3 separate regions of the Homo sapiens genome follow, and all the other regions are linked to region 1. The links are contacts of gene promoters, found by promoter capture Hi-C in blood cells and fetal thymus (Javierre and others, 2016). All regions are on one chromosome and are shown on one strand. Each heading gives the region's core, a stretch centred on a gene start or on the middle of the fragment in contact. The rest is flanking DNA. Distances are from core to core; before and after follow the strand shown.

Region 1 (2,627 bases), core at 72-2,571:
CATTCAGTGCCTAGGAATCTCTCCCTGAGCCTTATGGAACCCGCGCAAATGATGTTTTCCCATTCCCCTGATCTCCAGTCCCCGATCGGAAGGGAGAGCCGGCGGCCACCAGGGACCCCGGCACTGGAGTGAACGCCCCCAAATCGATCGCTGGCCAGTGTGGCTTTGGGCTGTCTCGCTGGTGCCACCGAGGCCCTCTTTGGGCTCCAGCTCTCAGGACAGCCTTGCCGCCCCGAGCTCCCCAAAGCCGCAGAGCGCCGGCAGGTGCGCGGTGGAGGCGCGCCGCGGAGCGCTGCTGCCGCCCTCAGCCCGCATTCGGGAAGCCGGCGGGCTGCCGGCCGGGAAGCCCTCGGCGGGAGGCAGCGGCTCCAGTGAGCCTGCGATCGCGCGCACGCCGCGCTCCAGCCCGCGAAAGTGGCCGAGCCCACGCGGGGACTCGCCCGCCGCGGCCAAGCCGGGTCTTCTGGGGCCGGGACCCCAAAGAGGCGGGCGCGGGAGAAGCCGCCACGGGTGTGCGCGCCTGTGGGGAGAGGGCGGAGGGCGCTGCCGACTCCGAGCGCCCGGCCCAGCCGCCGCTTACCCAGCTCGGCGACGTCGGTCTGTCCTTCCGTCCCCGCTCGGTCTACCTCGGCCGCCGCCGGCTGCTGAGGGCGGCGCGAGGCCCCTCTCCCTGCCCGCAGCTCGGAATCAGGGAGACGACCAAATCCACATGGAGTCCAAATTCATTAAAATCCACGTCAAGCCACCAGACACTTATCTGTATTCCTGAAGTCGCTCCTCGGTCTCCGCTCCGCGCGCCCCTCAGTCCTCCGTCGCCCCGCAGCAGCCCGGCTGGGCGCTGTCGCCGGCTCTCAGGGGGCACCCGGAGGCGCCGAGGGGGCGTGTGGGGGCGGCCGGCGGTGTCTCTCCTGAGGAAGAAGCAGAGCCCCGGCTGTCTTCAGATTTTTCCAGCGCGACTTTCCGGGCTCCTCTGACATCAGCAATCCCGGCGCTTCCTTCCCTTCTTGCTCTCCGGTTCGTTCACAGTCCCATTTCCTCCGGGAGCCTGGCTTTCCAGATCTATTTCGAGGTTTGCTCCGCTGGCTGCGGCGCTCGCACGCCCTACCGCTCCCAAGCTCTCGGGGTCTCTCTCCGGATCGCTCGCCCTCTCGGCTGAAAAATTCCCAGCAACTGCCCTCCGCCGCCCTCCCGCTCCAGTCTGGCGCGGATGCCGCTCCTCCCGGCAGCTCTGGCTCCCGCGGTGGCGGCGGCGGCGGCGGCGGCGGCGGCGGCGGAGGAGCCCTGAGCGCCGGCCTCCCTATTTCACCATGCAGCTCATTATCATAGAGGCCGCGCGCGTTAACCCCCTCCCCGCCGGCCGCGTCCGCCCGGGCTGGGGCCGCGCCCGCTGCTGGCACCGCCCGCCACCGCCAGCACCCTGCCCCCTCCCCCGCCCGCGCGGACTTCCTCCTCCGCAAGCTGTCAACAAAGGAGAAGCAGGTTTGGCATCCGGAGGCCGCTCGGCTGCCTGTCCTGCGCCCAGCTCAGCCCGGACCCATCGGCCACCTTAAGTAGCCAAGGGGGCAAGGAAAATGCTGCCAGGGCCCGGGAATTCGAGTCGGGCCTTGCGAGCCCAGCTGGCTTGGCCCCCGGGGGAATAGAAGGTCTAGCGTTGGGGTTAGGGGGGAGCTCAGAACACAGGAAGAGTGGGTGAGGGCAGTAGGGACAGGGAATCCCCCCCATTCGCATCACCTGTCACCGCACACATCCTGCACACCTCCCTCTTCATCTGTAATTTGAGTGAGGGGTGAGTGGGGAGGAACGGGGCTTGTCTGGTAGGGTTGAGACTAGAGTCTTGGAATTTGTGGGAGCAAATTTCCTCTTCTTGTAAATTAAAAAAAGAAAAAGGCCAACAAGCTGTCAAATAAGGCTTGAAGTTGTTGTTATTATTATTATTGCAATGAGAAGATGAACCTTGCTCTGAATTGAATCTCAAACTTCCAGCCCTGATAGGGATCCTGGGCATCTGGTAAGTCCCGACTTGCATGGGGGCATTGGGGACGGGAGAAGAGCTTTCTATATCCAATTCAGAGAATCTTTCTGGCAGGGTAATCAGAGGGGTGGCAATAAGATAACTTATTTTAATAACCTAAGGTGAGAGGTTTCGGGATTCTGGATGACAATGTCTCGGTGCCCTCAAGGCCACTGATTCCTCGCCACACAGTCTCAGTAACTCCGCAGCCTCTAGACACGGCTTTCCGGAAGCGGCCTGCAAGCTGGACCCCAGCGAGTTCGCAGGATCTGCGTAGTCCCTGCTCGCGATTAGAGCGCACACGAGTTTACTCCTGTCCAAGTATTCTGATAAGCTTCCTCTACTGCCCTCTCGTGGCCACAGTCCTCAGTGGTATAAATCTAAAAAACAACAAAAATCACTGCGAATACCTAAAAGCAATTGCACCAAATTCTTAGAGCAGTAGCGGCAGAAGAAACGAAGGGAGGGAAGGATGAAGAAAGGGAGCCGGAGAAAAGAGAGAGAGAGAGGAAGAAGAAAAGGAAATCTAGACTAACCAGTCATCTCGAACAATCGCACATTCAACACAGGACTGGGGGATCTAGGCTTTACTCCAACATCTGCAGAAATCAGCGAA
Region 2 (2,627 bases), core at 83-2,582, 970 kb after region 1:
CCATGTTTTATATCATGGTAGATTAAACTTTAGTCTCTTTGTCATCACTCAGGGGATATGGGGGCTTGTAAGGAAGACCAGATAAGACATAGACCACGTTTGCTGAATATGAGTATATATAAGGAATTCAGGCAACGATTCATTAGACAACTTTGCCTATCCCCTACAGAGGCTAAATGTATCCTGACCTCTCTGTTTCTGTGGCTCTAATGCACCTGTAGAATTTTAATCCTGTCCATCTAACTCTTGCTTACCCTTTGTGTCCTCATCACAGCTCATCTCATCCAGGAGTTGTCCCTGAGTCCTCCAGCCTTCATAGGTGCCATACTTCATTTGTTTCTTCCTTCATCTGTGTGTCCATTTATCAAGCCCAGATCAAATGTTCCTATGGATCAAGCACTACGGTTACAAATATGGCTATAGCACAAGGCATTTGCAAATGTCTTCAGAATCTTGCAGCACCTAGAAACTTTGATCATTAGCTCTTAGGTACATACAGTTGCTGATGTTTTGCACAAAGGTGACCCTTAATAAACATTGATTGAATGAATGAAGAACAACTTAATCTTGGATTCTTGTCCATCCTCTTCCTCTGTTTGTTCTAGAAAACAAAAGCAGGGCTGCAGCAGCACATGCTTTCATGAGGGCAGGGGATGATAAGCTTCTAAATGGTTTCTCAGGTTCCAGTGGGTACCACTAAGTGAACATCTGCAAGTTCTTCTCTCTGCTTCCCAGGGTCATGCAGTGTGGTGATACTGCTGTAGAGGGAGTTATCATAGCATAAAATAACAGGTTTAGTGGCTTGGAACCTCTACCTTTTAGCTGTTTGTTGTTGTTGTTGTTGCTGTTATTGCTACTCAGCTCAGGGAAATGAGAAAGAGAAGGACACATTTCACATGATTCCTCCTTCCTGGTCTTTAACAAGTTTAGCAGTCTACCACTAAGACCTGCTGATTCATTCTTTGGAAGAAAAATAATCTCTTATTTTTTCTTCTTCCTCTATATTCCTGTAGTCACCAGGTAGATCCAGATCCTCACCCTCAGAAATATCCGTCGATGTTCCCCAGCCTGCCATTTAGTTAAAACTCCCCTCACTCTGAGGTACACCCTCCCTTCTGGCTCACTGACATTCTTAATCATTTTCATCCCAATAGACAGAACAGTCCTGGCACCAAGTAAGCATGTAATAAATAATTATTGTATAATCAGGCACATTTCACCCTTATCTAACATGTCAAGTCTAAATTACCCCACCTGGAATTCAAGAAATTTTATACTCAGCCCCCTTGAGTTTCCTCTCTAACTGCTTTGTAGCTGACCCCTCTAATCTAGGACTCCAGATCCCTCATCACTGTCCATCAGGGCCCAGGATGATTCTGACCTTAGGCAGAAGACTCTCTATCCAGGCATCCCAACATTTGCCCTCATTCCCTCTTTCTTCAACCATCTTAATTCTATCCATGCTTTCATTGATCTGAAGAGGCTCTCAACGAATATCCATGCTGTGCAGTTCAGTTCCACTTCTTATAAGAAGCCCTCTGACTATGCCTGTGTGGGGCTCATTCCTGCTTGCCTGCAACACTGTCTTCCATTGGTTTACTTGTATGGATCTCTCACGTGGCTACTCAAATGTCACCCCTGCTACTGTAAAAGTTCTCCAAAGCCAGGGGCTATTTTACTTTCTCTTTTCATCTCCTTTTTACTTTTCTATCTTTTAATATGGTTTTTCCTTTTATTAATATATAATATTTTATGTATTTATGGGGTATATGTGTTTTTTACATGCATAGAATGTGTAATGATTGTGTTCTAGCTACTTTGAAATACATAATAGGTTGTTGCTAACTACAGTCACCCTAATCGACTGTTTAATATTGAAATTTTTTTTCTTCTATCTCACTGTAAGTTTGCACTCAATCACCAACCTTCTTTGTTTCTTCATCCTATCTTCACAACCTTCTCAGCCGCTTGTATCTACCATTCTATTCTCCATCTCCATGTGATCAAGCTTTTTAGGTCCTACATATGAGTGAGAACATGTACAATTTGTGTTTTTGTGCCTGGGTTTTTTTTACTTAACAAAGTGACCTCTAGTTCTATCCATGTTGCTGCAAATAACATGATTCCATTCTTTTTATGGGTGAATAGCATTTTATTATGTATATATGCTACATTTTTATTATCCATTTGTCCACCAATGGACACTTAGATTGATTCCATGTCCTTGCTATTGTGAATAGTGCTGCAATAAACATGTAAGTACATATATCCCTTTGATATATTGATTTCTTTTCCTTTGGATGGCTCTCCACTAATGGGATTACTGAATCATATGGTAGTTTTATTTTTAGTTTTTTGAGGTGTCTCCATACTGTTTTCCGCAGTGATTGAACTAATTCATATTAACAACAAAAATGTATAAGAGTTCTCTTTTTTCCACATCCTCGCCAGCATCTGGTATTTTTCTGTCTTTTTAATGATAGCCATTCTATTTGGGGTAGGATGATATCACATTGTGGTTTTGATTTGAATTTCCCTGTTGCATAGTGATGTTGAGGATTTTCTTCACGTACCTGTTGTCTATTTATGTTCTTTGCCCACTTTTTAATAGGATCTTTTTTTCACTG
Region 3 (2,627 bases), core at 55-2,554, 950 kb after region 1:
ATCCCCCAGAGAGAAGCGGCCACTTGGAAGTAAGCATGGCCCTTAGGAGGTGTGGCTAGATATTCAAGTGCTGGACCTCATGCCAAGAATGCACTGCTTCTTTCAAATTACATCCCTAAAACCAGTCACATCTTTCCAAATCTAATATAACATTTGCACCTAAATTCAAATACAACTCTTTCTTACAGTTGAATGAATCACTTTGTGCCTTGGTTTTTTCACTTAAAAATACTGAAAAGAGGCCAGGTGTGGCAGCTCATGCCTGTAATCCCAGCACTTTGGGAAGCTGAGATGGGCGGCTCACTTGAGGTCAGGAGTTTGAGACCAGCCTAGCCAACATGGTGAAACCCATCTCTACTTAAAAAAATTAGCCAGGCATGGTGGCAGCTGCCTGTAATCCCTGCTACTTGGAAGGCTGAGGCATGAGAATCACTTGAACCTGGGAGGTGGAGGTTGCAGTGAGTCAAGATCGCGCCACTGCATTCCAGCCTGGATGGCAGAGCAAGACTCTGTCTCAAAAATATAGATAGATAGATAGATGATAGATGATAGATAGATAGATAGATAGATAGATAGATAGATAATAGCATCTGCTTCTTAATGTTACTATGATGATTAAATGAGATTAGAATAGTGCTTGGCATACAGTAAAAACTCATTAAATGCTGTCTAGTGTTATTGTCGTTGCTGTTGTTATAAGTTAAAATCCACAAGCTTTAACTTAGAGTAGAATTTGGAAATTGGAAAAAGTAATTTCAAGGCCCAAGTTTCACCAGAAAGGAACTTCCCTGAGAAACCCTTATCAATACACATCCAAGTAAGTGAAGGAATGCAGTATTATATCTTATTTGGCAGAACGTTTTCCTTCTGGGTCTATTTCACTCATTTATAGCCCCAATGAGAGAATGCTGATTGGGTTGCAGGGAAAGTTGGGTAAAGTTTTCATAGCCTAGAATATTCTTGATAATAACTAGAATTTATCCAAGAAATTAAAATATAAGATCATCCACAGGTTATATATCAGTAATCAAAAGTGAGTATATTATTCTCACTCGGTTTGCTAATGGTTGAAATTGCTCAGCGGGGTAGTGGAATAGTAGAGACCAGATGCTAAGATTCTCTGGTCCTGGGGAAGCAGGTTTTCCATAGGGTCTCCATAGCACAGGTCACGGTGACATTTACCATAACTGGCAACTGGTGCACAGCTCCATAGTAAACATGGAAATGACTTCACTGTAACTAACTTGCTAGCTCCATGTTTTAAGAATTGTGCAAGAATCACTCATCTGCATAGAGAGTACTGATGGTTACACAGCATGTATTTAATGCCAGTGAACTGTACACTTACAAGTGGTTACAATGACAGATATGTCTATCTTGCCACAATAAAAAAATAAAGTTGCAAATAAAAAATAAACAAAAATAAGCACCACCCCGTCTTTAGCCCAGAAGATAGGACATCGTAATACATCTACCCACCAAATGGTAGGACAAAATAGGTAGTAAGTCCACGGGTGAGAAAGTTGACTTGAGGAGAGGAAAACTAGCCTATGAATCACATCTAATTAATTTCAGAGAGTATCAGCTGGTATTCAAATATGTACAGCCTCTTATGTATGCTGGGATGGAAAACTAACAAACAGGAAAGAATGTGTCTCCATAGTTTAGCAAGGTAGCCAAGAAGCCGAAATAGATTCTGCCCGTAAAATGCTATTAGAAATCTACTCAATTAAGGCAACCCCTTACTGTGAGGCCCAATTTCTTTGGCCACATTTTTCACTCTATATGGGTGAGGTTGAGTAAGGACGCCAGCCCAAGTTTATGGGTCTTCAAGTCTTCTTTTAAGAAGGCTTTTAATCCCTCTTTTCAGGGAGGCTGGTCTCGCCAGGAATGGCAAGCTTGCCAGGAACCTACGGTCTTTGGCGCCACTCACAACACTGCTAACTGCTGCTGTCACCACTCTTGTAGGGGGTGGTCTCCTGCACGGCGCCTGCTGCGCCCTCTAGTGTCATCAACGGTCTTGTGCAGTTCTTTGTGGGAAAGGGAACAAGGCTTAGAGTTATTCAAAGCCTAACCTCCAGCGATTTTCCTTTCTGGACTCCTTGGTTCATAGAGAGCGCCCTCAGGGGTCATGGCAGAGGGGAGCCCTGGGTATCCTGTGTATCCGTGTGTATACCCAGGAATTCGGGTCACTTAAAATTCTTGCATTCCTCTTCATTCATTTTCCAGTGAAGTTCAACAGCACACATACAATAGCAATTCTAGAAACTATTCTGGACAGATAGGTCTCCAGGGTGCAGAGGCTAAACAGACACTAACAACAACTATGGCAGAGCCATGTTGAGGCTCACAGCCCTGTTTTTTCCCCCTAAGCCTATGTCTAGACTGTACATCCCAGCCAGCCTTGCAGTTAGCTATGACCAGTAATTGAATTCTAATCCATGTGTAAAAAGCCATATATAAAGAAACAATGAATTTGTTTAGGCTCTTAAAAACTCCCACACTTCATCCTCCTTTTTTTTTTCCTCATATGCTAGCTGAATGAAAAAGATTTCAAGTTCCTGGAGGACAGTGGGCTATAATATGGGACACCATCCAGGGAAAAACATGGACTTTGGTCTGTGACA

What was found. The method cuts DNA at HindIII sites, captures the fragments that hold promoters and counts their contacts. A CHiCAGO score of 5 or more calls a contact.
Region 2: a fragment that was not itself captured here is called in contact with the fragment with the promoter of PLXNA2 in region 1 in 1 of 17 cell types (endothelial precursors); the score reaches 6.4 in endothelial precursors.
Region 3: a fragment that was not itself captured here is called in contact with the fragment with the promoter of PLXNA2 in region 1 in 1 of 17 cell types (endothelial precursors); the score reaches 5.2 in endothelial precursors.

The regions. Positions count from the first base shown.
Region 1 is chr1:208,243,063-208,245,689 of GRCh38, forward strand. PLXNA2 (plexin A2) reads right to left here and starts at 1,322. Exons shown (of 32, transcript NM_025179.4): 1 at 581-1,322. RefSeq lists enhancers at 1-361, 362-861 and a silencer at 1,380-1,439. The HindIII fragment of the contact is 7,265 bases long and covers 1-2,343 here.
Region 2 is chr1:209,211,502-209,214,128 of GRCh38, forward strand. It overlaps LOC105372896 (a long non-coding RNA gene), which reads right to left. Exons shown (of 5, transcript XR_922530.4): 5 at 1-385. Among named protein-coding and RNA genes, the nearest start is that of LINC01696, 110 kb to the right of the region's middle. The HindIII fragment of the contact is 1,347 bases long and covers 660-2,006 here.
Region 3 is chr1:209,188,822-209,191,448 of GRCh38, forward strand. No RefSeq gene overlaps it. Among named protein-coding and RNA genes, the nearest start is that of LINC01696, 140 kb to the right of the region's middle. RefSeq lists an enhancer at 1,774-1,883. The HindIII fragment of the contact is 1,184 bases long and covers 713-1,896 here.